7 separate regions of the Homo sapiens genome follow, and regions 1, 2, 3, 4, 6 and 7 are each linked to region 5. Evidence: promoter capture Hi-C in 16 types of primary human blood cells and fetal thymus (Javierre and others, 2016). All regions are on one chromosome and are shown on one strand. Each heading gives the region's core, a stretch centred on a gene start or on the middle of the fragment in contact. The rest is flanking DNA. Distances are from core to core; before and after follow the strand shown. Region 1 overlaps TXNRD1 (thioredoxin reductase 1). Region 2 has its middle 3.0 kb from the start of LINC02385. Region 3 holds the start of NFYB (nuclear transcription factor Y subunit beta). Region 4 has its middle 70 kb from the start of EID3. Region 5 holds the start of NOPCHAP1 (NOP protein chaperone 1). Region 6 overlaps LOC124903003 (a long non-coding RNA gene). Region 7 has its middle 33 kb from the start of CHST11.

What was found. The method cuts DNA at HindIII sites, captures the fragments that hold promoters and counts their contacts. A CHiCAGO score of 5 or more calls a contact.
Region 1: a fragment that was not itself captured here is called in contact with the fragment with the promoter of NOPCHAP1 in region 5 in 2 of 17 cell types (activated CD4 T cells and naive B cells); the score reaches 6.5 in activated CD4 T cells.
Region 2: a fragment that was not itself captured here is called in contact with the fragment with the promoter of NOPCHAP1 in region 5 in 4 of 17 cell types (non-activated CD4 T cells, total B cells, activated CD4 T cells and 1 more); the score reaches 8.5 in non-activated CD4 T cells.
Region 3: a contact is called between the fragment with the promoter of NFYB here and the fragment with the promoter of NOPCHAP1 in region 5, in 3 of 17 cell types (non-activated CD4 T cells, naive CD4 T cells and total CD8 T cells). The highest score is 5.8, in non-activated CD4 T cells.
Region 4: a fragment that was not itself captured here is called in contact with the fragment with the promoter of NOPCHAP1 in region 5 in 16 of 17 cell types (naive B cells, total CD8 T cells, total B cells and 13 more); the score reaches 11.5 in naive B cells.
Region 6: a contact is called between a fragment that was not itself captured here and the fragment with the promoter of NOPCHAP1 in region 5, in 3 of 17 cell types (neutrophils, total CD8 T cells and monocytes). The highest score is 7.2, in neutrophils.
Region 7: a contact is called between a fragment that was not itself captured here and the fragment with the promoter of NOPCHAP1 in region 5, in 10 of 17 cell types (naive CD8 T cells, naive B cells, total B cells and 7 more). The highest score is 8.7, in naive CD8 T cells.

The regions. Positions count from the first base shown.
Region 1 is chr12:104,348,867-104,352,998 of GRCh38, forward strand. TXNRD1 (thioredoxin reductase 1) reads left to right here. Exons shown (of 17, transcript NM_001093771.3): 17 at 1-1,441. Among named protein-coding and RNA genes, the nearest start is that of EID3, 47 kb to the left of the region's middle. The HindIII fragment of the contact is 1,164 bases long and covers 893-2,056 here.
Region 2 is chr12:104,164,990-104,168,861 of GRCh38, forward strand. No RefSeq gene overlaps it. Among named protein-coding and RNA genes, the nearest start is that of LINC02385, 3.0 kb to the right of the region's middle. The HindIII fragment of the contact is 2,041 bases long and covers 904-2,944 here.
Region 3 is chr12:104,136,958-104,141,077 of GRCh38, forward strand. It overlaps NFYB (nuclear transcription factor Y subunit beta), which reads right to left and starts at 1,253. Exons shown (of 8, transcript NM_006166.4): 1 at 1,184-1,253. LOC105369947 (a long non-coding RNA gene) reads left to right here and starts at 3,274. Exons shown (of 3, transcript XR_945286.2): 1 at 3,274-3,741. RefSeq lists enhancers at 1-405, 406-997, 1,821-1,990 and silencers at 617-746, 807-886, 987-1,086, 1,137-1,436. The HindIII fragment of the contact is 8,431 bases long and covers 1-4,120 here.
Region 4 is chr12:104,372,219-104,376,077 of GRCh38, forward strand. No RefSeq gene overlaps it. Among named protein-coding and RNA genes, the nearest start is that of EID3, 70 kb to the left of the region's middle. RefSeq lists enhancers at 1-578, 579-1,334, 2,897-3,408. The HindIII fragment of the contact is 638 bases long and covers 1,863-2,500 here.
Region 5 is chr12:104,984,242-104,987,897 of GRCh38, forward strand. It overlaps NOPCHAP1 (NOP protein chaperone 1), which reads left to right and starts at 2,075. Exons shown (of 4, transcript NM_152318.3): 1 at 2,075-2,226. The coding sequence starts at 2,112. It overlaps LOC105369952 (a long non-coding RNA gene), which reads right to left and starts at 2,129. Exons shown (of 2, transcript XR_007063436.1): 1 at 2,062-2,129; 2 at 1-182. RefSeq lists enhancers at 1,729-2,241, 2,242-2,752 and a silencer at 2,305-2,554. The HindIII fragment of the contact is 4,173 bases long and covers 1-2,980 here.
Region 6 is chr12:104,401,448-104,405,485 of GRCh38, forward strand. It overlaps LOC124903003 (a long non-coding RNA gene), which reads left to right. Exons shown (of 2, transcript XR_007063434.1): 2 at 174-446. Among named protein-coding and RNA genes, the nearest start is that of CHST11, 53 kb to the right of the region's middle. The HindIII fragment of the contact is 3,430 bases long and covers 305-3,734 here.
Region 7 is chr12:104,422,270-104,425,878 of GRCh38, forward strand. No RefSeq gene overlaps it. Among named protein-coding and RNA genes, the nearest start is that of CHST11, 33 kb to the right of the region's middle. The HindIII fragment of the contact is 5,119 bases long and covers 1-3,609 here.

The DNA.
Region 1 (4,132 bases), core at 225-2,724, 640 kb before region 5:
ATGGCTAGAGTATCCATGCAAGGTGTCTTGTTGCATGGAAGGGATAGTTTGGCTCCCTTGGAGGCTATGTAGGCTTGTCCCGGGAAAGAGAACTGTCCTGCAGCTGAAATGGACTGTTCTTTACTGACCTGCTCAGCAGTTTCTTCTCTCATATATTCCCAAAACAAGTACATCTGCGATCAACTCTAGCCAAATTTGCCCCTGTGTGCTACATGATGGATGATTATTATTTTAAGGTCTGTTTAGGAAGGGAAATGGCTACTTGGCCAGCCATTGCCTGGCATTTGGTAGTATAGTATGATTCTCACCATTATTTGTCATGGAGGCAGACATACACCAGAAATGGGGGAGAAACAGTACATATCTTTCTGTCTTTAGTTTATTGTGTGCTGGTCTAAGCAAGCTGAGATCATTTGCAATGGAAAACACGTAACTTGTTTAAAAGTTTTTCTGGTAGCTTTAGCTTTATGCTAAAAAAAATAATGACATTGGGTATCTATTTCTTTCTAAGACTACATTAGTAGGAAAATAAGTCTTTTCATGCTTATGATTTAGCTGTTTTGTGGTAATTGCTTTTTAAAGGAAGTTATTAATATCATAAGTTATTATTAATATTTTGAACACAGGTGGATGTGAAGGATTTTCATTTAAAAACCAAGTGGTTTTGACTTTTTCTGTTGAATGAACAACTGTGCCTTGTGGAATTTTTGCAGAAGTGTTTATGCTTTGTTAGCATTTCAACTTGCATTATTATAAAGAGGTATTAATGCCTCAGTTATGTGTTTGTCAATGTACTGGCTGAGGATTCTATCTCAGCTGTCTTTTCTAACTGTGTAGGTTGAGTTTTGAACACGTGCTTGTGGACATCAGGCCTCCTGCCAGCAGTTCTTGAAGCTTCTTTTTCATTCCTGCTACTCTACCTGTATTTCTCAGTTGCAGCACTGAGTGGTCAAAATACATTTCTGGGCCACCTCAGGGAACCCATGCATCTGCCTGGCATTTAGGCAGCAGAGCCCCTGACCGTCCCCCACAGGGCTCTGCCTCACGTCCTCATCTCATTTGGCTGTGTAAAGAAATGGGAAAAGGGAAAAGGAGAGAGCAATTGAGGCAGTTGACCATATTCAGTTTTATTTATTTATTTTTAATTTGTTTTTTTCTCCAAGTCCACCAGTCTCTGAAATTAGAACAGTAGGCGGTATGAGATAATCAGGCCTAATCATGTTGTGATTCTCTTTTCTTAGTGGAGTGGAATGTTCTATCCCCACAAGAAGGATTATATCTTATAGACTTGTCTTGTTCAGATTCTGTATTTACCCATTTTATTGAAACATATACTAAGTTCCATGTATTTTTGTTACAAATCTTCTGAAAAAAAACAAAACAATGTGAAACATTAAAATTAAAAGGCATTAATAATATCCACGTGTGCCTTCTTACTGAATGATGGTCTTGGGAGTCTTTGCAAGAGTATTGAGTAGATCTCTGATATTGTGTTGAAAAGCTAGCTGCTGAGTAGGCTCCAATGATGCTATGCTGATTTAAGTATAGAAGAACTAATCAGTTCATTGCCATTTCCCATCTTCTGGCAGTATCAGGCACATAGATGGTCAATAAATGTTTCCAGAAATGTTGATTACCATGTTCAGATTATGCATTCACATGCACTTAATCTTCTTAGGTATCACTTTTTAAGCAGAAACTCCTCTTTTATGTAATCTTTACCAAAAACCTTCCCAGTTTGTACTTGTTTTTGTGGTAAGTAGTTGCAGGGTGCTAGTAATAACAACAGCTAAATGAGTGTTTACTGCAACACGTGCAGGCACTGTGCTTGACACACCCTGGCTGATGTGATCCTTACAACAATCCTATTAGAGAAGGTGCTTTTGTACCCATTTATAGATGGAGAAACAGGCTCAGAAGTGTAAGTCACTTTCTTAGGATTACACAGCCAGTTAATGCATCACGTTTTTGAGGCCAGAGTTGGGTCTGTGACCTCAAAGGCGCTACCTCTTAGTTACCTCGCAGTGCAGCCTCCCATTCATCTCTGACAAATGGAAGCTTTTAGGTCTGCTGCATCAATTCCTGGGACTTCACATTTTCACATGCCGTCAAGCAATGCTGTCTACACGCTTAATAAATACCTTGTCTTGAGATGTTCTAACACTTTCCTAACTGGACTTTCCACCGCCAGTTTACTTCCCACTAGAGCCAGGCTCTTATTGCCTGAACTTCCCTGTCTCAAGCCTTTGAGGTTTTCCCAAGGCCTGTAACTAGACCCACAGTCCCCTGCCAGACCCTGAACCTGTTATCTGCAGCTCTAGCCTGCGCTTTCCCTTGCCTGTTCTGGCTACACCTGCTCTATGTCCCCATATAACTACTAGCCTCCCTCAAAGGTCACCTGCTCTGCGTAACTTCCAGCTGGTTCTCTACCTCTACTCCCAGGGTACTCTGTATTGTCTCTAGAGCTCTTTGAATTACTCTGCATGGAGTGTAGTGTGTGTTTCTGTCACCACCACTAGATAATGAGGGTTCTTTACCTCTGTGTGCCCCACAGCTTCTAGCACAAGGTCTGGCACTACAGAAGCACTTAGAACATTGGTGTAATTGGATTGACAGGTAGAGCCATAACTATCAGAGATGGCCATATAGGAAGCCTTTTAATTTCTTCCTGTTATGTCAGGAGCCATTGATTTAAATGTTAATGAAAGTAGAAAGGGCCTAAACAGAAAAAAAGTCAGCCTCACTAGTGAGGGGGAATGCAAATTAAATTGCAGTGAAATGCAAATCAAGCTGAAGTGAGATACCATTTTATACCCACTGTGAGTGGCTACTTTTTTTTTTTCTTTGAGACAGGGTCTTGTTCTGTTTCCCAGGCTGGAGTGCAGTGGTGCGAACACAGCTCGCTGCAGCCTCTGACCTTCTGGGCTCAAGCCATCCTCCTACCTCAGCCTCCCAAGTAGCTGGGACTACAGGCATGCACCACCATGCCCAGCTAATTTTTTAAGTTTTTGTGGAGATTGGGTTTTTTGCTCTATTGCCCAGGCTGGTCTTGAACTCCTGGGCTCAAGTGATCACCCTGCCTTGGCTTCCCAAAGTGCTAGGATTACAGGCATGAGCCACTGTCCTAGCCTGGATGGTTAATTTTATGTGTCAACTTGACTGGGCTAAGGGATGCCCAGAGAGCTGGTAAAATATTCCTGGATGTTTCTGTGAGGGTGTTTCTGAAAGAGATTAACACTGATTCGAATCAGGAGACAGTAAAGAGGGTCACCCTCACCAATGTGGGTAGGCATTGTCTAATCCTTGAGGCCCAAATCAAACAAAAGGCAGAAAGGTGAATTTACTCTTTGCCCTTGAGCTTGGAGATCCATCTTCTCCTGCCCTCAGACCTTGCTGCTCTGGTTCTTGGGACTTTAGACTCAGATTAGGACTTGCACCCTTGGTTCCCTGGTCTCAGGCCTTCAGGTTTGGACTGAAACTCCATGACTCACTCTCCTGGGCCTCCAGCCTGCAGATGGGACTGTGGGACTTTTCAGGCTCCATAATCACATGAGCCAATCCCTCCTAAAAATCTCTTTCCATATTTTATGTACACACATATGTATAAAATCCATTGTTTCTGTGGAGAGCCCTCATGCACCCATTGTATGGCAGATTTAAGAGTGCCAGTATCCAGTGTTGTCAAAGACATGGAGCAACTGGAACACTTATTATTATTGCTGGTGGGGATGTAAATTATTCAATCACTTCGGAAAACAGTGAAGATCAGCATATCAAACATTTCGAAAATGATTTGAAATTTTTTTACATGTTTTAACAAAGCCAGTTTATTTTGTAGTTTTAATAAAAAAGGTGCCCTTTTTGTCCCTGGATTCACTTAGCATTCATAATTTTTTTTAATACAATGAATTTAAATTGCTAAAAGATCATGGACTGGCTTTCTGGTTGGATTTCAGGTAAGATGTGTTTAAGGCCAGAGCTCTTCCTCAATATTTGTTTTTTTCCCAATATTTGATTTTTAAAATATACACATAGATGCTACATTTATAGCTTCTGGCTTAAAATTCTGTCATATGTCACGTCTAGCCTTTTAGTATGGTAAATCATGTTTTACTTCTACTTAAACATTAAT
Region 2 (3,872 bases), core at 674-3,173, 820 kb before region 5:
AAGCCTCCATAAAAACACCAAAGGACTGGGTTTGAAAATATTTTTTTTTTAGACAGGGTCTCACTGTCACCCAGGCTGGATTGCAGTGATACAATCACGTCTCACTACAGCCTCTACCTCCTGGGCTCAAGTGATTCTCCCACCTCAGCCTCCTGAGTAGCTGGGACTACAGGTGCCCGCCACCAGGCCCGGCTAATTTTGTATGTTTTGTAGAGACAGGGTTTTGCCATGTTGCCCGGACTGGTCTCAAACTCCTGGGCTCAAGTGATCCGCCCGCCTCAGCCTCCCAAAGTGCTGGAATTACAAGGGTGAGCCACCGTACCTGGCCTGAAGAGCTTCTTGATAGCCAAACACATGGAGGTACCTGGATGGTAGAGCACCCAGAGAGGGCATGGAAGCTCCGTGCCCTTTCTCATAAGCCTTCTGATGCATCTCTTCCATCCATCTGTTCATTATATCTTTTATAAGAAATGGATAAACATAAGTAAAGTGTTTCCCTGAGTTCTATGAGCTGTCCTAGCAATTTAGTTGAACCCAAGGAGGAGGTCATGGTAACTCCAGTTTATAGTGTTGCCAAACTGAGCTGGGGCCTGCTTGCCTGGCACAGTAAGGCCAAACATCCATGCTGAGATTTTGCAGTGAGAGAAAGGAGGGCATTTATTTGCAGTGTGCCATGCAAGGAGAATCTGGCAGTTCATGCTCAAGATCTGACCTCTGCAAGCCAAGGGTTTTTAAAGGTACAGGTAAATTTCAGGAAAGCAGAAGTTACAGGCAAAATTGTAAACCAATACTTGGAGGTTAAACATCAGTTTGGCCTAAAAAGGCAGGATATCCTCAACCAAGGGCTTACAGGTCATGGGTCAATTAAAAGATTTTCTGATTTGCAATTGGTTAGGGAAGGAAAGCTTCATCTAAAGACTTGGGGTCATCAGAAAACAATGTTAGGTCTGGCCCATGGGCGTGACTTCCTCCTGGCCCCTGAGGAAGAAATTTAGAACAAAGAATGGCAGCCAGAGTTCAGTCCTCAGTGTTCTCCCCTTATCTGAGGTCCGTGTGCCAGTGGATCCATTTGGCAGGGGTCTGGATTTCTAAAGAACAACTCAGGGCTATTTGTTAACATGTTATCTTTAGTTTCTATAGAGAACCAAACATCTCATGACTCTAACTTCCTTGGCTATTGTTTTAAGCTACTATTACCTTTTTGCTTATTAAGTTGCTCATTTACTTCTCAGGGCTAGCTAGGTTCCCAGGATTTCCCTTAAATGAACTCAAGATTTGCCTTTATTTCCATGCTTGAGGGTGCCTAGCAGGGACCTCTGTTCCTTCTCAATAGCTGATTGGCTGGAAGCACTAATCACAACCTTGGGCTTGCAACTGGCATCTAAAGCAGTCTTATGGGACTGGGTCCTCAACCCATGGGATCTGATGCTATCTCTAGATAGTGTCAGAATCGAATGGAATTATAGGATGCAAAGCTGGTGCCTGACGAGAATTCCTTGGTGTATGGAGAAAAACCCACACACATCTGGTGTCAGAAGTGAAGTATTAAGTGGTGTGAGTAGAGAGAAAAACCACTGAGTAGACAAAGTGGTTTAGGCTGCTGGGAGAGGACTGCTTGTCTGTCGGCCAGGACATTTCTCAGCTGGACTAGTGAGATGATTACTTTATTCTCTTAAACCTCCAAGGCTCAGATGATGCCGTGCATGACTCCAGGGAGCACCATTCACTTAGACTATAGTGAATAGCACCCCCTGCAGCTGTGCAACATGGTGGCTCAGGCCAGTTTATACACCTGTCATATTCTCTCTCTCCACTTTATCCCCACCACCACCCCGTACGACCACCACCATGCTCAGAAAACCCTTGCCTAGCACGCTCCTGGACTATTCATGTCAAAACAACTGTGGGAAATGATGCAAATAGCAACATTAATATCCACAAGCTAAAATACAGCATGGCTTCATTTTCTTCTTGTTTCCTTTCTCCGTGATATCAAGTTGTGTTTCTGCCTGTGAGAAAGACACTCACCCATCCAGTCCCAAAGAATGGACTTACAGGCACGAAGAACAGCAAAAGTGAGACTTTTTTTTTTTTTTTTTTTTGAGATGGAGTTTCACTCTTGTCACCCAGGCTGGAGTGAGTGCAGTGGCACAATCTTGGCTCACTGCAACCTCTGCCTCCCGGTTCAAGCAATTCTCCTGCCTCACCCACCCGAGTAGCTGTGATTACAGGCACCTGTCACCACGCCCAGCTAATTTTTGTATTTTTAGTAGAGATGGGGTTTCACCATGTTGGCCAGGCTGGTCTCGAGCTCCTGACCTCAGGTGATCCACCTGCCTCAGCCTCCCAAAGTGCTGGGATTACAGGCGTGAGCCACCATGCCCGGCCTCCAGTGGTATTTCTGGATCCAGCTTCTGTGTGGTGACCAACTGGGTGTGACAATAGCTCAGTTAGTGAGCAATAGAAAATAATGGAAAGACTCACACACAGTCAGCCCACAAATTCCTGCAACACCAGAGGCAGACAGGTTATAGGATACTGGGTTCCCTTATGTTCCTAAGTCATCTTATTGTGTGTCTTATTTTCCACTTGAGGCTGTTCTTTGTGGTAATTTTAATATGACTTATCTTGCCTTAAACATTTAGAGTTGGAAGGAAGGGACAGAATGTATTTTGCCCTGGGCCCTCACCTGCTGGGGAGGACTACTAGCCACAAACCCTCCCTAAAGATAACTGTGAGCACAGGGTAAGCATGCATTCCAAGCGTGACTTAATGAGAACTCTGTAATGTACCAAGAAATAAAAAGATAAGCATAGACTGACACAAAGATCAAAAGGGCAGATGAACTGTCAACTTCCAAATCAGTTTTTCCTCCAAAACATATGTTTAAAAATCTTTACTGGTAACAAGCCTGAAGGATTTTGATTTTGTGATCTCATATGTAAGCTTATCACCAACTCTGAAGGCTTAGGTCTGCTGGCATGGGTTCCATCCTTCCTTAGTGAATAAAGTACCACTTGTTGAATTGCCTCTATTGGTTCCTGGAGTGCCTCTGAGTTCTTGGAGGTCTCTGGAATTCAAGAGTCTGTTCAGTCCAATACAGCTTAGGGCAGGGGACCCCAACCACTGGGCCATGGACCAGTACTGGTTCACAGCCTGTTAGGAACCGAGAAGCACAGCAGGAGCCGAGCAGCACAGCAGGAGGTGTACAGCAGGCAAGTGAGCAAAGCTCACCTGTATTTACAACTGCTCCCTAATGCACACATTACCACCTGAGCTCTGCCTCCTGTCGGATCAGCAGTGGCATTAGATTCTCATAGGAATATGAACTTTATTGTGAACTGTGCATGTGAGGGATCTGGGCTGCATCTAAGTTGCATGCTCCTTAGGAGAATCTAATGACTGATGAAACCATCCCCCCATCCTGCTCCCATCTGTGGAAGAATTATCTTCCACAGAACCGATCACTGGTGCAAAAAGGCTGGGAACCTCTAGTTTAGGGAATTAAAAAATGGCCCAAGACAAGTAAGTTGTAGAGCCATGTGAGAAAACATTTTAAATGGTCCATTTTCAAGGCATGATAAATCTAAGTACATGGTGAAACCCCATCTCTACTAAAAACACAAAAATTAGTCAGGTGTGGTGGCTCACGCCTGTAGTCCCAGCTACTCAGGAGGCTGAGGCATGAGAATCACTCAAACCCAGAGGCAGAGGTTGCAATGAGCTGAGATCACGCCACTGCACTCCAGCCTGGGCAACAGATTGACGCTTGGTCTCAAAAAACAAACAAACAAACAAACAAAAACCAGAAATACCATTGGAGAGAATGTTTCCAAGTCCTCAGGACAGGCTGAACTGATAAAGTGGAGGTT
Region 3 (4,120 bases), core at 3-2,502, 850 kb before region 5:
AGCAATGCAGGGAAGGAATAATTTGCCTTTTAAGGAATTTTGGTTAAACTTTCAATACTTTACAAATAAACCCCCCACTGATTAGTGCCACTGATATTGATCCGTTTGCTTTCATCACTTTATGTTGCTGATTAGTTTCCATACTAAGAGAGATGAAACCACCCCAGTGATTTGTAGCACGAACCACGCAACTATGGGGTCCATGCGGGTTAGTGGGATGCCATTTTTTTAAAGGTCGCAGGCTACCTAACCTTGTTTAAATTATCCTGTTAGAGTGCTTTGGGCGAGATTACGATTTGTGGGTGCTCTGTAATTCTTTGTTCTCTAAGACTACCGTTCTTTAAGGCCCTGCATATCCTCCCGCCTCCCACCACTAATGATTAAAACCTTAGTCCAATCCGAAGGGCTTCCTTCCCACCTTCGGGGCAAGTACAGGGACCGCAAACCGCCAGATGGCTGCATTCTTTACGCGCAAACCAGGCTGCGGGGAAGCTAAAGCCATGCCTTCCTCCCCACGCAGGTGCCTGGGTGGCCCCGGCCCCACGGCCTGGTCCCGGCGACCTGTCAGCCCTGCGAGTGCCAGGAGGCCGCCCCCAGAGCGCATCCCCTGACTCGCCCGGCCGCCCCGGCCCCGCGCCCAACGCCTGCCTCCCACCCGCCGCGCGGCCCCCGGGATGTGCGGGCAGACAAAGCGCCGGGCCCCGCCACAGCCCCGCGGGCGGGAGGAGGGCGCCCCCGGGGACTCGCGCCGCCGCCGGGGCTACGGGGCCAGGGCCCGGGCCGCGTCTCCCGCCCCTCGGCCGGCTCCCCGCACAAAATGGAGCCGGCCCGGGACGCCGTCGAGAGCGGGGCCCCGACGCAGCCCCGCGGCCCCTCCTCGGCCCCGGGCCCGGAGCTCAACGGCGGCGAGGGTGAGGTGGCCTGGCCCGCGTCCCGCCGCTCCTCAGCCCGGCGCACAAAGAGCCGCGCCGCGGCCCCGCGCCCGCTCCCCGGCCCGGCCCGCTGCGGGAGCGGCCTCGCAGGCGCGGGGCCCGGCCTCGGCCCGCGCGGGAGGGCGGGAGGCTAGTGCCCCCGGCCGCGGCGGCGTTGGCGGCGGGGACGGCGCCGGGAGGAGACGGACATTTCATTCGAGCTAAAGTGGAGTCGGTTTAGGAGCGATCATTGGCCGAAGCGAGACACAAACCTCCAATGCAGCCCTGGTTGGCTCCCGTCTCCAATCGGCTGTTTGGTTGGACAGAAAATGGCTGCGAAGGAACCAGTCCCAGCGCGGAGCTCCGCTTCCAGGACTCGGCCTCCCCTCCCTCCGCCGCGGGCCGCTTCCCTCGGCGCGACACCCTCCCTCCGCGCCGCCCGCGCGCCCGCCCGCCGCGGCCCCGCCCCGCCCCGCCCCGCCCCCGGCCCCGCCCCGCCCCCGGCCCAGTCCCGCGTTCCTGTGAGGCCTCCGCGCCGCTCCGGATGCCGCTCCTCTAGGCGCGAGGTCTTCCAGGGCCCTGCCCGGGCGCGCCGTTCGGGTCTAGGCGGGCCTCCTTCCCGGTGCTGACCCGGGCCTGTGCGAAGCGGGATCTCTCGGGCGTCCCTCTCTTTGTCACCCCTTCCCCCGCCACGTGGAGGTGCCTCAGCCGCCTGAGCTCAGCCTGCCTGCGCCTGGATTTTTAAGAAGGGGAAACCAAGGACAGAAGCCGCCCCCTAGGACGACGCGCCCGAGCCACCGGGAGGGTCTGAACGGCGGGGGCCTCCTGGAGCGCCTTCAGCGCCTCGTGTTTTCTTTCCTTGGGTCCCTGTTAGCGTCGCCGCATGCACAGCGCTCCCTGTCATTTGGTCCCTGAGCTTGGGTGTTTTTCACATTTCATCTAAAGATGCAGACCCCTGCTAAGTCTAGCCAGCCTTCACCCTGAATCTTGAACTTAAGATGCTGCATTTTCCACCCACCCCCACCCCTCTAGTAGCTGCAGATTGACAAGCGGCTTTTCCCAACCAGATGACATTTTGGCTGCAAGAATCCGTGGCCCGTTCTTGCCTCTGTGCAGCCAAGCTCCTTCGCTGTCTTTCTCAAACTGCAGTCCTGAGTTCAGCTTCGCTTAGCAGTGACCATCCCAGAGGTGGGTAATCCAACACTGGATCCACTCACTGCAACCGGAGCTGGGGATGGCATGCCCTCTGCTTCCACTAACCGAGTGGCCTGCACCACATTAAACTCTCCAGCTTTGATTATGTAAAAATACAGAGATCTTTTATTTATAGAGTTCCTACTGTTTCTCAGAGTATTTAAACATTTCTGCGGCAAGTATGGAAGAAAAGACAAATGAAAGCCCCAAATTGTGACAAGAGGAGTAAGTAGCAATGCCACTGTCATCAGACAACCTGACTTGAATTCCAACTCCCCTTCTTACAGGCTTGTGATCTTGGCCAAATGTCTGCTTCTCAGGGTTGTTTGGGATAATGTATACATAGAAAGCCCTTTAAAAAAAAAAAGTTATCCCAGCACTTTGGGAGGCCGAAGCAGGCCGATCACCTGAGGTCAGGAGTTCGAGACCAGCCTGACCAACATGGCGAAACCCCGTCTCTACTAAAAATACAAAAATTAGCCGGGCGTGGTGGTGGGCGCCTGTAATCCCAACTACTCAGGAGGCTGAGGCAGGAGAATCGCTTGAACCCGGGAGGCAGAGGTTGCAGTGAGCCGAGATCACACCATTGCACTCCAGCCTAGGCGACAGAGCAAGACTCCATCTCAAAAAAAAAAAAAAAAAAAGTTATCCTAAGATCTTTATATAGCATGAATTTCTTCAATCTCCATCAAACATTTAAAAGGTGTTATTTGCTTAGAAAAAAAAAAGGAAAAATTGGCCTGAGTTTAATTTCTCCCTTTCTCTATGCTTACCCATAAAGTGGAGATTAAGGAGTGAAATGATGTGTTCAAAGGTTCAAAGGCAGGAAATATAAAGTAATAGAATTGGGAGAAGGGGCTGGGCATGGTGGCTCACGCCTGTAATCCCAGCACTTTGGGAAGCCAAGGCAGGCCGATCACCTGAGGTCAGGAATTCGAGACCAGCCTGACCAACATGGAGAAACCCCGTCTGTACTAAAAAATACAAAATTAGCCGGGCGTGGTGGCGCATGCCTGTAATCCCAGCTACTCGAGAGGCTGAGACAGGAGAATCACTTGAACCCAGGAGGCGGAGGTTGCGGTGAGCTGAGATCGCGCCATTGCACTCCAGCCTGGGCGACAAGAATGAAACTCTGTCTCAAAAAAGGAAAAAAAAAAAAAAAAAAGAATTGGGAGAAAGATGACTAATCCTTCTCCCAATTCTGGATGGTGAACCAAAAGATGCGAAGATGACTACTTTTCTGAGTTAATAGTTTATCATTTCAGTACTGTGGATCTAAACTATGTGCTTAATTCAAATTCCACTAAAAGGTAATATCAGCTCCTACATTCTGCAGGCATTGTACTAGGAGCCCAAGGGCTACAAAGGTGAATGAATCACTCTCCTTACCCTGAGGAGCCAGAACTCTAGGAGAAATGGAACCCGGTCCACATCCCCTCTGCAGTTGGATCCTAGGTCATCCTGCCTTAACAACCAACCTGTGTTCTCTGTTTCTTCTGTATCTATTTCAGGAAGCCCCCAATAAATGTTAACCACTTTTCTGATGACTTGGTGAAAGAGGAAGGCCAAGATCATAATTTAGTCTTGGAAAAAACACTGCAGCTAACCTAGTCTTTGCATTCAAAGTCAGAGACAGGTAATTGAGTGTCTTTATTTCGAGTCTGTACACCACAGCTGCCAGTTAGTTCATATCGCCATTTCTCTAGGCGTCATAATTAAGCAAACAATGAAACAGAATCCCTGGCCCCATGAAGACTTCACAGTTTTTACTTCATCACTTCAATGAGGTCTCGTAAAATTCCCATGAGGACAGGGTCTAGTAGAATATTGTCTCCACTTCCACCTTCCTGATTCTTCTCTTGCTCCACTCTTCTCAATCCATTCTATGCACTGAGGCCTAGAAGGATCTGGCTTCAGCTTCCCTCTCCCACCCGGCTTGTGGCTCTTCCTCAACCCTGACCTCACCACCTTCTAGACCCACTGGCCTATGCATTGCTCCTCACACACGCACCAGC
Region 4 (3,859 bases), core at 932-3,431, 610 kb before region 5:
ATAAGGGGCGGCTGTAAATACAGATGAAGCTTCGCTCACTTGCCCGCAGTGACTCGCCCCACTTCCTGCTGTGGGGCCCAGTTCCTAACAGGCCACAGAGCGGATGAGTACCGGTCCACAGCCCAGAGGCTGGGGACCCCTTGTCTCAGAGACATCTTGAGAACCTCTTTATTTCCTCTTTGTTAATGCAAGAAGTGGTTTTGAAAGCAATTCATGCATTTTCAGGAAAGAAGGCAAAAGAGACTAGGGAAGGGGGTGGGGAAGGCTTACCAGGTGCTGTATACACGACAAAGCAGAAAGGCTGGGAACTACAACTCTGGAGTCAGACACATTTTGGGTTGAACTCAGTCACTGCCCATTAGCATAGTGATCCTGGAGAAGTCATCTACCCTCATGTGTGAAGGAGAAACAATGAATGCTCCTGGACCCTAGAGCTGCTCAGAGGATCCAATAGAGCAAAGATGTCAAAAGGCCAGCGCCATGCCTGGCACAGAGGAAGGATTCAATCAGTTAATTCAGCCATGCTGAAGCCACCATGATGTGACAGAAAATCAGCTTGCAGCTGGGGGAGCGGGATTTGCCTCCTGATCATCTGCCCCGGAATCCACCACCTTCCTGAATGGCAGTCCCAGCAGCGCCAGGGTGGAAGCAGATGCTGGCTGAGGAGAGAATCCTGCCCTTCCCCGTCCAGCCACTTCCAGCCGTCTCCCAGCCCCTGGGTGCTGCACGGGCAGTACCAAGACTTCCCTGGCCCGGAAGGACCTCTGACAAGGCCCTGGAAGCCCAGCAGGGCCAGGCTGGGCTTTGAGAGGAGATGAGTGTTAGGAGTGCGTGTCAGGTGGGGGAAGGGAGCTGTAAGCAGCAGAGACTGGCCAACCTTGCCCATGAGCTTTAGGTCTCCATCTATGTGTCCATGCAGAAGGGCCCCCAGAGGAGAGCAGCATCCCGGCCTCTGTCAGGAGAGGAGAGAGTTACCCGATTTAAGGAGCTCAGGAGAAAGAGTGAGTGTGCTCAGCTCATCCCTCCCCTGTGGGAGCCAGCTCCCACCAAGGGTGAAGAGGGTCAGGCCCTGGGGTTGGGGGTGGATGGAGGTCTGCAGAGGTCCCCCAGCAGCCCCTGTGAAGGATGGGCAAATTCGTTTGTGCACTGCAGTCTTGGCAGCCTTGCACATTGTCCCCAGCTTCCCGTTCCCCAGCCTACCTCTTTTTTTTTTTGTTTTTGAGACAGGGTCTCACTCTGTCGCCCAGGCTGGAGTGCAGTGGCGCTGTCTCGGCTCACTGCAAGCTCCGCCTCCCGGGTTCACACCGTTCTCCTGCCTCAGCCTCCCGAGTAGCTGGGACTACAGGCGCCCGCCACCATGCCCGGCTAATTTTTTTGAGTTTTTAGTAGAAATGAGGTTTCACCGTGTTAGCCAGGATGGTCTCGATCTCCTGACCTCATGATCTGCCCGCCTTGGCCTCCCAAAGTGCTGGGATTACAGGCATGAGCCACCACGCCCGGCCTCATCCCCAGCCTACCTCTTGTAAAAATGAGCTGCCACTTTGCTGTCCATCCCTGGGACCCTGGCAGGCTCCATGAGTAGGCAAGAGAGGGGTGTGGTTCACCAGCCCCACCTCCAACAATGTCGGGAAACTCTGTGTTCCATCTCCTCCTGAAGCTGGCAGCCCTCAGTGTATACTTTCTCAGCTGCAAATGCTACCATTTTAAACTCAGAGGATTTTAAAAAATATATTTGAGCCTCACACAGGAAGACCCAAAAATTATTAAAATATAGAACATTTAGACTGTGGGGCAGAGACTGCATCTGTTCTGTTCACTTACCCCTAGGTCCTAACATACATAGTAGGTACCCAATAAACATAAGCTTAGCAAATGACTGAAAATTAATTTAAGCAGCTCATATGTGAAAAGAGCATATACACAAAGATGTTCATTGCAGCATTGTTTATAATGGTAGAAAATTATTTTGTACAATCTGGTTAAGAAATCTGTGGTATATGAATGCAATGAAATGGCATGCTATTATTAGAATTAACAAGAGGACTATCAAACCAGGAGAACAGGTTTACGGGATGTTGCTAAATGAAATTTAATAATACTGTGATTTAAAGAATGTAAACGTGTATATCTACATAGATGAAGATTGAAAGGCCCATTTAGAGATAAAGTCATTGCTGTGTAAAATTAGCAGCAATTAAGAAACACCTTTGGTAATGTTTTACAGTGGATTCTAGAATATGTTTTAAACTCTTTTAAAGAAACCCCTGCAGTATTTTCTAAACAGATGAGATGGTGGTTTGCTATTTTCCAGAGTCCATTGAGTGAGCTGTGAAAGGCCCCATTGGATAGGGGGCTTCTGGAAATTTCCATCTCCCCACCTCCTGGTGGGTAGCAACTCAGAGCTGGCAAAATTATTCTTGGCAAAGGCAATCTCATGTCAGAAAGAGTTCTCAGTGCAAAGAGCCTTTAGCAACAGAGGTGCTAGAATCTGTGTCGGTGAAGCTTTGCAAACAGCAGGGATTCCACAGAGGCCTTTTCAGGCCTTTATTTCCCACTCTGTACCTTCTCCTCCTTCTTTTTTTTTTTTTTTCCCAAGTTTTGTAAACATCCCAGGGATGATTTTTGTACTCCCCCAGGTCTGTGGGAGTCGGATGAGATGGAAAGAGGCCTCGCATTGTCCCTGCAGACCTGTATCCCTTCCGGCCACCCCTGCTGCCCTCACACTCCCCTCCCACCACAGCACCCACCTGTGGTCTGACAGAGGACACCACACCTTTGCCCATTCTCACACCCCCTCCCGCTGGACAGCCCCTGTCCTTAATGAGGCAGCTTGATGTTTTGTGGGACCTGCTGGTGTCCTGCCCAGGGAGGGGTGTGAGGGGTGGTGGGCTGGCCTGCTCCTGGAACTGTAGCATCAAACTGTTCAGGCTTTCATTTGCAACAGCCACACACTGGGACACCAAAATAGGTCCCGGCGGAGATGTGGGTGGGGCTGGCCTGGGCTTGGCCCCACCCAAGTAGGGCGCCAGGGAGACAGAGTGCCCCAGCACCACCAAGGTGGGCAGAAGCCATGTGGGGCCACTGAGAGAAATTCCACTGAGGTTCCTGTTGGGCCTTCCTTCCACCCAAAGTTTTGGACCTTCTGCTTGAGTGAATTATAGTGGGAATTCTGGGCTTTGGCTTTGGGGGCTGCCAGATGAGAAGGGTCTTAGTGTTCAACTGGTCCCACCTGGCACTGCGGGAAAAGCAGAAGCTGTCACCTCCCAGCTCTGCCATTTACTAGCGCAAGTTGTTGAAGGCCATCGATTCAACGCCATTTAGGTGTGTGCTAAGCGTTACATACACCTTATCCTTTGTCATCTCCACAGCTCTGGCATGGGTGTACTCTTCAGAGATGACAAAACTGAGGCCCAGAAAGGGTGAGTCACTGGCCCAGGGTCACCCAGCTTATCGTAGGTGAAGCTAGGATTTAAACCCAGATCTAATTTTCCTCCCAAGCAGGTGACTTAATCTTTCTCCTGAGCTACCTTCTCGTGTCTTCCCGAAGCCAATTTCCCTTGCAAAGCAGCAGAGCAACTTGACATTGGTGCACATGTTCCCCTCCAGAAATCCCGCCTGCAAAAACTCTGAAAATGGAAAGTTTATTCATGGGAAAACTTGCCCTGAGCTGCCACAAGGCTCATTGTGGTCTTGATTTATCTCACTTATTGTGGACGTTCACATGATTTCCTGAAGAAATATGAATGAGTTAGACTGTGGATCTGTTAGACGTTGCTGGGAATCTGACAGGGTATGCAGAAATCACACTGTGTTTCTCTAGGAAATCCTGAATTCTCAAACACATCAGGTCCCAAGGGAT
Region 5 (3,656 bases), core at 825-3,324:
TCTCAGTGGAATGGGGAATAGGAAAGGGGATGGTGGGGGAAGAAGGTGATCTTTCCCTGAAGTCGCACCATCTGAAGTTGGCCGCAGCTATCTGTAGTCTCTTCTTGTATCCCCAACACTTAGCCATTCATATTGCTCTGTCAGCTGGTCCTTTTATGGGCGCAGGATATGGGAATGGCAGGCTAAAAAGGCAACATTTGGGCGAAAAATGGGGTCAGCTATTGTCACTTAGGGCCACAGTTCCATGCTTTAGAGTGGGGTTTAGCTGGGAGCCCAATAATTCTGTATCACCAGTGCCATTACATACATTTTACTCCTTTTCCTCTTTTATTCCTTATAACATCCCCATGAAGTATTATTATCCTGATTCTGCAGAGAAGGACAGACGCTCAGGGAGTGATCTGCCCAAAGTCACAGCTACTAAATGAATAATATGACACTGGATTTAATCCACTCCAGGCTGATTCTGGAGCCTCTGCACTGTCAGAAATAAGCAGAAAAGATTGGTCCAAGGTTTCTGCTGCTTCTGCTTTGAATCCTATATAAGAGGGGTCTGGGCATACTGCAGGTGGTCAATAAAGACTGTTAAAAGAACAAACAGGAAAGGAAGCAATAGAGTGAAAAGGCAACCTACAGAATGGGAGAAAATATTTGTAAATCATATATCCGATAAAGGGTTAATATCCAGAATATATAAATAACTCCTACAACTCAACAACAAAAACACAAATAACCAGATTAAAAAATGGGTAAAGGAGTTGAATAGTCATTTCTCCAAAGAAGATATATAAATGGCCAACAAGCCCATGAAAAGGTGTTCAGCATCACTAAATCATTAGAGAAATGCAAACCAAAACTTCAAGATATCACTTCACACTCACTGGGATGCTCACTGTCAAAAAGAAAGAAGCAACCAAACAGAAAAAGGAAATATTGACAAGGATGTGGAGAAATTGGAACTCTTGTGCACTGTGGGAATGTAAAATGGTGCAGCCACTATGAAAAACTATACGGAGGCTTCACAAAAACCTAAAAAGTAGAATTACCCTATTATCCAGTAATCCCATGTCTGGGTATGTATCCCAAAGCATTGAAAAGCAGGGTCTCTAAGAGATATTTGTACCACCATGTTCATTGCAGCAGCGTTCACAATGACCACGAGGTGGAAGCAACCAGCACGCCTGTTGAGAGATCAATGGTAAGAAAATGTGGTATATACATACAATGGCATATTATTCAGGCTTAAAAAAGAAGAGAATCCTGTTATGTGCTACAACATGTCTAAACCTTGAGGGTATTATTTTAAGTGAAATTAGTAACAAAAAGGCAAGTACTGTATGATTCCACCTACATAATGTATCTGAAGTAGTCAAGCTCATAGTAACAGAAAGTAGAACGATGGTAGCTGGGCATGATGGCTCACGCCTGTAATCCCAGCACTTTGGGAGGCCAAGGTGGGTGGATCTCCCGAGGTCAGGAAATCAAGATCAGCCCGGCCAACATGGTGAAAACCCGTCTCTATACAAAAATACAAAAATTAGCCGGGCGTGGTAGTGTGCACCTGTAATCTTAGCTACTTGGGAGGCTGAGGCACCAGCCTGGGCGACAGAGCAAGGCTGTTTCAAAAAGAAAGAAACAAAGAAGAAAGTAGAATGGTGGTTACCAAGGGACTGGAGTAGGGGTAAATGGGTATAAGGTTTCAGTTTTGCAAGATGAAAATGATCTAGAGGTCTGCCACCACTGAATTGTACAACTAAAAATGGTTAAGATGGTAGATTTTGTTACGTGTTTTTTCACCAATTAAAAAAAAATTTAATAAAAAAGGATAAAGAGGAGGGAAGCCTAATGTTATGCTCTTTATGCCCGAATTTGGCGAAATCGAGCCTTGCCCGCTGTTTTTTCCTATGACAGTGTCTGAACCTTTCTTTTTCCCAGGAGTAGGAATGGCCCCTGCTCCCGCGCAGCCTCCAGGCTGCACCACGCTCGCCCCGCCTCTCTCTCCGCTCCTTACTCCGCCCACCGCAGTTTCCTCCAATCGCGGCCCTCTCCCCGCCCCCTTACCCGAGCCTTTTTCCTGCATCCGGGCCTGAGAGTGCAGGCTTGAGGGAAGCATGGAGGTCCATGGCAAGCCCAAGGCTAGCCCGAGTTGTTCGTCGCCCACCCGGGATTCCTCAGGAGTCCCAGTGTCCAAGGAGCTGCTGACGGCGGGAAGCGACGGCCGCGGAGGTGACGGACGGGTGACGGCGGCATGGGCCGCACACGTGCGGCAGAGGAGGCGCGGCCGGTGCAGTTTGGGAGCCGGCCGGTGGCTCCCTGCCCGGGCTCCGTACCCTCGAGGGGAGCCCCGGGGACTGCTGCGGGGCTCCGGCGTGCCCTGCCCGCGGCAGGGGTGGGGGCTTTGGGGCGGGCACCCGGCTGCGGGCCCGGAATGGTTTCCCCAGCTAGTGGTTCTTATATTCTGCAAGGTAGTGAGCGCCCACCCTGCCAGGCGCCGCTGCCAGGCATCTGCCCTGCCCTGGAAGCTGGGAAGCTCTCGAGTTCTTTTGGGGAAGGGAGGGCTTTTGGTTTGGCTGCCTGGGTCGGAGCAGTTGGCTGATAGGGGGAAGCGGAGTAATATTATGCTAACAGTCCCTACCTCTTTCACACCCACACAGACCACCCCTTAGTGCTGCTGTCTTGTAGAGGGAGACATGCATCCAGGAAATCCACACAGCATTTCAGACACTATAGGTAGAATTTAAAAGCACGAGTTCGAATCCCAGCTCCACTAGTAATTAACTGGTGGGACTTAGAGTTATTTTCATTCCCTAAGCCTCAGTTTTTGCATTTGGAAAATGGTGATAGTAGTAATGCCTGTAGAATTTTTGTGAGGAGGAGAATGCCTAAAAAGGCTTGGGCATGTTGTCAGTAAATACTAGCTTGAAGAAAAGGTTTTGTGAGAACCCAGAGATTCCGAAGGAAGTATAATAATGATAACCAAAGCTTATGTAGTCCTTACTATGTATGCCCCAGAAACTAACTCATCTAATCCTCACAACAACCCTTTGCAGAAAATCTGTTATCTCTGTTTTATAGTTGAGGAACCTGAGACATGATTTATCATACAGGTAATTTACCTTCTGGAGATCATGTGGCTAGAAAGTAGCAAAACTGGGACTTGAATTCAAGTAGTCTGGCTCCAGACTCTGTGCTCTGATCACGAATCCAGTAGGCCTTAAGTAGTAGGCATTCAATGGATGTTTGTTGCGGCTCTGCTTTGCAGGTGAACAGGATTTGTTTTTTAACCAGAGAGTTAAGGGATTTTCCGGGTATTAGAAATAGGGTGTGCAAAGCCTTGAGTTTTGTACGTTCCCCTCTTGGAACTCTGATGGGATAGAGAGTTGGGATGATTTGAGTAGTGAGAAATGAGGCTGGAAAGGTAGAGTGGGTGACAAAATCCCCAAAAGGCTGCTTTCCTTGGGTTGAACGTCTTCAGGGAAGGGGAAATACCAGGCAAGCATGTTTTACTAATGAAGAAACAAATGCTTGAAGATCAGGTAAGTTGCCCAGTGTTACACAACTAGTAACCATTTCTGGCTTCACTTAACCATTGTTATGCTCTGTACTGTTTCCTCCGTTCTGTCATTGCAGACCCACGTTTGTCTGCTAATGAATTT
Region 6 (4,038 bases), core at 770-3,269, 580 kb before region 5:
GGGATTACAGGCATGAGTTACCACACTCAGCAGCACTTCGCTTTTTAAAGCCTCTATTTCCTCCCTTGTAAAATGGAAATTCTTGCCTTAGTGTTTCCAAAGTAGAAATTCTTATCTGTGTGTGGCAGAGACCATGCTAGATCTTCAGCAAAACTTGTTTTTCTTTCCTCCAGGGCCCATGGACAAACCACACATGCCAGTGTCCCCACTGTTAGGGAGGGGTCATATTGATGGACTCTGACCAATAGCATGTGATGAATTCTCTTCCTACACCTGTCAGCTGGGAGCTGAGAATCCAGGGGGAAGCTTCTAAGGCTCCAGGAGGATGAGCTTTTAGATGGAAGGAACCTGAGTCCCTGAGTGACTTGGTGGAGAACCTCCACCCCCTAATCAGCTACACTGGACGTGACATGATTGAAAAATAAACATTGGGCATGTTGCTTTTATAGCAGCTAGCATTCCTTACCCAGGCCCATCTACCCAGCATTTCCCAGTGTCTGATACACAAGATGATTTCAGTATACCCAAACAGTTTAAAATGTTCACTTCTTACACATTTGTTTTATAGGTATGCTTTCTTGATGTATTACATATTTGTTTTATAGGTATTTCTTTATTAACAAAGAACCATAGACTGGGTGGCTTAAGCAACATTTATTTCTCACAGTCCTGGAGGCTGGAAGTCCAAAATCAGGGTGCCAGCAGGGTTGGGTTCTGGTGAGGGCCCTCTCCCAGATTGTAGACTGTCAACTTCCTGTTGCATCCTCACATGATGGAAAGATGGCTAGAGAGCTCTCTGGGGTCTCTTTTTTGAAAAAATTTTGTTTATTTATTTATTTATTTATTTTTATTTTACTTTACATTCTGGGATACATGTGCAGAGCGTGCAGGTTTGTTGCATAGGAATACATGTGCCATGGTGGTTTGCTGCATCTATCAACCCATCATCTAGGTTTTAAGCCCTACATGCATTAGGTATGTGTCCTAATGCTCTCCCTCTGCTTGCCCCCCTTCCCCCAACAGGACCTGGTGTGTGATGTTCCCCTCCCTGTGCCCATGTGTTCTCATTTTTCAACTCCCACTTATGAGTGAGAACATGTGGTATTTGGTTTTCTGTTGCTGTGTTAGTTTGCTGAGAAGGATGGCTTCCAGCTTCATCCATGTCTCTGCAAAGGACATGAACTCATTCTTTTTTATGGTATGGTATAGTATTGGTATAGTATGGTATAATATGGTATAGTATTCCATCACGTATGTGTGTCTGGGGTTCGTTTTATAAGGACACCAATTCTATTCATGAGGGCTCCACCCTCCTGACCTAATCAACTCCTAAAGGCCCTACCTCCTAATACCATCCCGTTGAGGTTTAGGGTTTTGACACATGAATTTGAGGGGTCACACACATTCAGACCACAACAAAGTATTAAATACACACACACAAAAACCTCATCAGCCTTATGATTTCAGAGATATTATCACTTAGGACAAGGATTGGTTTAATTATGCAAGTTGGTTAAAGAAAAATGTCAAGTAAATAACAAAAGGTAGCAGGTGGAAATGGCAAAAATTGTGACAGTGACACACAGGCTGGCTTACTCCATGTGGTTATTGTGAGGCTCAAATGACATCGTGTATGTGAAGTCCCTCTCGTGAGCTGGCCTAGGGGGCCAAGGCAGGTGGATCGATTGAGCCCAGGAGTTTGAGACAAGCCTTGGCAACGTGGCAACACCCCATCTCTACAAAAAGTACAAAAAATTAGCCAGGCATGGTGATGTGCACCTGTAGTCCCAGCTACCCAGGAGGCTGAGGTGGGAGGACTGCTTGAGCCCGGAAGGTGGAGGCTGCAGTGATCTGTGATTGTGCCACTGCACTCCAGCCTGGATGATAGAGTAAGACCTTGTCTCTACAGCAACAACAAAAGTCCCTCTCCTGGTCCGGCGCATAGTAAGTATGTGACAAATAGTAGCTCTCATCTTGTAATATGCAACCTGCATTACAGGATGGATTCCACCACCTCTGGTTTGCTGTTTACTTGCCTACTGCCCTTCATCTCTGAATCTCTAGTAGTAGCTCCATGCCCAGCACCTAATGGGGCCACATAAATAGAGACTGAGTGTTAATTATTAAAGGGGCATAACATCCTTTCCAGAATCACAGATTTGAGTACACTGGGCTATGAGCCCTGTGCAGACAAGAACTACATGTGTCTGACTGAGTGCTGTATCCCCAGCATCCAACCCAGAACCCAGTGCTTGGTTGGTGCTCAAGAAATATTTGTTATGAATGAACATACTTATCTGAATTCCTCTCATAGACTCCTACACTGCCCAACCTGGCCTGAGCCTTGAGAACAATACTTCTTAGCTAAAGAAGAGGAAAGTAGTCTGGGCACGGTGGGTCACACCTGTAATCCCAGCACTTTGGGAGGCCGAGGCGGGCGGATTACCTGAGGTCGGGAGTTCGAGACCAGCCTAACCAACATGGAGAAACCCCATCTCTACTAAAAATACAAAATTAGCCGGGTGTGGTGGCACATGCCTGTAATCCCAGCTACTTGGGAGGCTGAGGCAGGAAAATCGCTCGAACTCAGGAGGCAGAGGTAGCAGTGAGCCGAGTTCGTGCCATTGCACTCCAGCCTGGGCAACGAGAGCGAAACTCCATCTCAAAAAAAAAAGAGGAAAGTAAAAGTATGAAGAAGCAAAGTGACTTCACAAAGTCACACAGGTATGGGAATGTGCAGTGGGGTTTTTGAAAGTCACATGGGACATGAAGCAGTTCTTTGCTGTGCAAGACTGTCCCAGGCATTGCCTGCCAATGCCCATGAAAGCCAATGGTGTCTCTAATCATTGTGATAATCAGAGATGCTCTGGAAGATCTCCAAAACACCTCATAGGGACAGTACCCCCCTGGGAACTGCAGATCCAGCCTGTCCTTCCAAATGGATGAAGAAACTAAGACCCATGGAGGAAGACAGGCTTCCTCAAATGATGAAGCCAGCATTTGGAACAAATTCCTGACACTGGATTATGAATCTTTCTCTAGGGCCAGGCAGGTGGCTCATATCTGTAATCCCAGCATCTTGGAAGGCTGAACTGGGAGGATTGCTTGAGCCTAGGAGTTCAAGACCAGCCTGGGCAATAGAGCAAGACCCTGTCTCTATAAAAAATTAAAAAATTAGCCAGACATGGTGGCTTATGCCTGTAGTCCCAGTCACTTGGGAGGCTGAGGTGGGAGGATGACTTGAGCCAAGGAGGTCACGATCAGGCCACTGGACTCCAGCCTAGACAACAGAGTGAGACCTTGTCTCAAATTTAAAAAAAAAACAAAAAACTTTTTCTCCAATCATTGAGAGTAGGACTTGTTCAGATCATAAAGGAAGCTCCTGGAGGGACAGGGGCTTGGGGCCCATCAGGACTCAGCACCGCAGGGTGGTACTAAGGCAACTCCCATGAGCTGATGAGGAGGGAAGCCCCTGGGATGCTCTGGCCTCTGCCCCTGTCCCTTCTCCGCTGCGGCTCAGCCCTGCCTGGGGAGGAGAGCAGCAAGGGGGTGGGAGGGTGTGGGCAGAGATAAATCTGCTCCCAGGCAAAAGCTGGCTCTGACTCCTAATAGAACTGAGATGAGTGCGTGTATTTTAAAGCAAATAAATGTTTCAAGACCTGAGAAGGGAGACGTTAATGGCTCCATTCGAATTCAGCAGAATTTATTTTCCATTAGGGTTGGGCTTTCTGAGAAGCTTGGTTCAATCAAGGTTAGACATGAAAACAGCACTGTGGCTGAGTGGACACCAAGTTCCCCTCCACCCACTGCACCTTGCTTAATTAGAGCTCCTGACCTGCAGCCGCCCTTGGCTGGCCCACAGACAGATGCGCTAGTCTTTTTTGCTCTTTTTGTTTTTTTCTTTTTTTTTTTTTGAGACAGAGTCTTGCTCTGTCGCCCAGGCTGGAGTGCAGTGGCGCGATCTCGGCTCACTGCAAACTCTGCCTCCCGGGTTCACACCATTCTCCTGCTTCAGCCTCCCAAGTAGCTGGGACTACA
Region 7 (3,609 bases), core at 376-2,875, 560 kb before region 5:
TCACACAGTCCCAGGGGATCTTGAGAACATGTGTCCAAGGTGGTCAGTCTACAGCTTGGTTTTATGCATTTTACAGAGACGTAAGACATCAAGCAATCAATACGCATAAGATCAGTCTGGAAAAGGGGGGCAACTCTGGGGGGAGTGGGCTTCCAGGTCATAGACAGATTCAAGAATTTTCTAGTTGGCAATTGGTTGAAAGAGTTATTATCTAAAGACCTAGAATCAGTGGAAGGGAATGTCTGGGTTAAGATAAGGGGTTGTGGTGACCAAGTTTCCCATTATGCAGATAAAATCAACAGAAGAGAATATTTCTGATCAGACGTAAAAGAGTCTATCTGTATTAAGGTCTCTCTTTTTATGTTAATGCTAGTCAGCTGTGCCTAAATTCCAATGGGAGGAGGGTATAATGAGGCATGTCTGAACCTCACTTCACATCATGGCTTGAACTAGCTTTTCAGGTTAACTTTGGAATGCCCTTGGCCAAGAGGGTGGGGTCCATTGGCCAGTTGTGGACTTAGAATTTTATTTTTGGTTTATGTTAGTATTAGTCACACCCAGCTCTTTTGATTTTACTCTTTTTCCCTTTTCCCCCTCTTTCTGGTTCCAAAGACAGCTTTCCTGCAGCACTTCCCTTATTTTGAAATTATTTTTACAAGTCTGTGTTTCCTACAAGGGTAAACTCCTGAAAGACATGGTCTTTTTTTCTTTTAACCTGGAAATGGCTCCTAGGCACAATTAAGACAAGACTAACTCATTAATATGCCTAAAGGAAGAGTCCAGAAGGGGTGTAAGGGGCATAGATATTCACAGAAAGCAGAGACAGAGAAAACACACAAAAAAATGTTGACCCTCTCAGATGAGGAGAGGTTCTTTCTGACTACCTCAAGCTACCTTATTACTTTTTTAATTTGTAGAGATGAGGTTTCACTACATTGCCCAGGCTGGTTGAACTTCTGGGCTCAAGCGATCCTCCCACCTCAGCCTCCCAAGTAGCTGGGATTATAGTAAGTGTGCACCACAAACACATGGCTAATTGTTTAATTTTTTTTTTGTGGAGGTGAGGGTCTCACCGTGTTGCCCAGGCTGGTCTTGAACTCCTGGGGTCAAGTAATCCTCTCACCTCAGCCTCCCAAAGTGCTGGGATTTACAGGCATGAGTCACTGCACCTGGCCTTAGAATAGGAATGTTTCTCAAGAACCACAGATCCCTGCCACTTCAATCATTTGATGACTGAGCGAATGTCTCTCAAATTTAGAGCCTCCTTTGAAGACCTGCCTGGGAGAAACGAATGGGTCTACTTTGCAAAAAGGAGCTATGATTCCTGTGGTGAATAGGAAAATCAATCAGCATTTCTGTTTGTACACTGGCTTAGGGAAAGGCAACTGAGTCCCTACAAGTTGGTTCTGCCCACCTTCTGTTGACATACACCAGTCTGTGAGTCTTCAATGACTTCAGTAACCTCACTGAGGGAGCTGGCCCCATGTCACTATCATGACAGTTAGCAGATCTTTCTAAAAAAAAAAAAAAAAAACAAAACCATGCTGGATCTGATTTTTCCACTCAAGAAGTGCTTTTGGGGCCTTATCAGTCTTTCCATTTCTCCAGAAAGCACTACAAACAATAGTAGCAGTTTCCTTTTTTTGAAAATTTACTCTGTGCCAGGCACATAGTTTTGTTCCTGCCCAGAATACCCTATCAGTCTATTTCAACCCTAGCCATCCTTTAAAGCCAACCATTTGTTTACTTACTCAACATTTACCCAGCACTTTCTAGACGCCAATATATGTGGCAATGTTGAGTTGAGTGAGACGCAGCTACAGTCCTCAGGAGCTCACCGTGTAATGAGGCAGAAACAGAAACTCTCTAATGAAATAGTGCATAATGATAGAGAGACGAACGGGATCCTGTGGGATACAGAGGGTCATATAACCCAGCTTTGCAAGGGAGGCTGATTCGAGAGGCTTCGTGGAGGAGGTGACACATGAGCTGAATAGGAGAGAGACTGTGGAGAAAGGCATCCTTGATCAAGTTAGCAAGTGGAAAACCACAGTGTGTGCAGGGTAAAATGAGCAGTGGTTCCACATGTTTATGGAGGACAGGTAAAAAGCCAGAGTCTACATCCCAGAGGGAGAGAAGAGATTCAACTGTTCCCCCAGTCTTACTTTCCATGCAACTTGTGTGGTGTGAGCATCCTGCCTCTGCACTTAAAGTGCCTAAAAGATACATCATTATATGAAATATCTTCCAAGTACAAGCCTGCTGTTTCATCTTTGGGGACAACCAAAGAAACAGAAATCTGCCCCAGTATTGGAGGGAAAACTAATCATGCTAGCCCTTTGTAGAGATGCAGGAGGAAGACTGTGTACCTGATGAGCATTTAAAGGATTTTCTCAGGTAATTTAAATGTTGCACATCTTTGCTTAGACTTCAGAGCCAACCTCCTCCCGCTGCCATGCAGTTCAAGGGCTTGTCGATGTGTTCACCTGCATTTTGAAATTTTTCCCAATGAGACTGTTAATTGTATTGAGGATGGGTCCTATCCCTGAGACAATGCACTTGCATTTTTTCTGTAGAAGAAATCCTCTAGAATGCACAGTAGGCTGACTGGTTTTGATGAGATACCAGTGAGGGTGGCTTTAATTTAAGCAACATGTATACAATAACATATTCCACCAGAACTAGCAATATTGTCAGGTTACAGGTTTTCAGGGCTCAGGATACCACTAGTGGCCCACTTGCAGGGTCAGAACACACACTGGAAGTTCCCAATTGCTTCTTCATTTACACAAGTTCTGTAGAAGAAACTATCAATGACAAAGCAGTGACATATGGTGGTGAAGACACTCCCTGCACCAGACTAAAAGTTTCAGTACCACGGCCAGGTGGGGAATTAAAAGAAGGAAAAACCTTGTAAACTTGATGTTAGAGTCAGAGAAGGGATGATCCAATGCCTACAATATGAGCTGAGGGCCAAGAATATTTATTATTTCTTTTACTGTTAGTTCAAATGTGAATTTCCTCTGCTCAACTCCAGACACTCAACTCCAATTTTCTGACAGTAACCATTGTAAAAAAATATTGCCACCATCTTTGTCTTTTGGGCTTATAAGTGGACTAAGTTCTTATGCTTGGTTAGGTAGAATCTTTTCAGTGACCTGAAAATGAAGGCATATGCAAATATCTTTAAAATAGTCTTTTTGAAGCTGCACAGAAAGGAAGAGTCGAGAGATCCTTCTGCGGTAGTATTGATTCCTCCCTCCCTCCCAACCAAGCCAGATCTTCAGCAGGGAGCTGGAATTGGGTTTCCAGAATAAGAGGATTGTATCCTAACAGTTCTGGAACTACATGGGGTGACATTCTCATTCAGGTGCCACCCAAGGTTTGATGACATCTGTAACAAGTCTGCTGAGAGGACAGCACAGAAGTCCCTTCAGAGGAAAAAGGCAATAAGAATGCAGCATCAAGATCCTGATTTATCGTGTTCGCATTTACCTGCCAGTCTCCTTGGATACGCCTCTCTGTTGCAGGGTAGGGGTTTTGGTTAGAAATTCTGCTCACATGCCGGGGTTGGTAGCTGCATAATTGAACAGCACAGAACTACCCAGG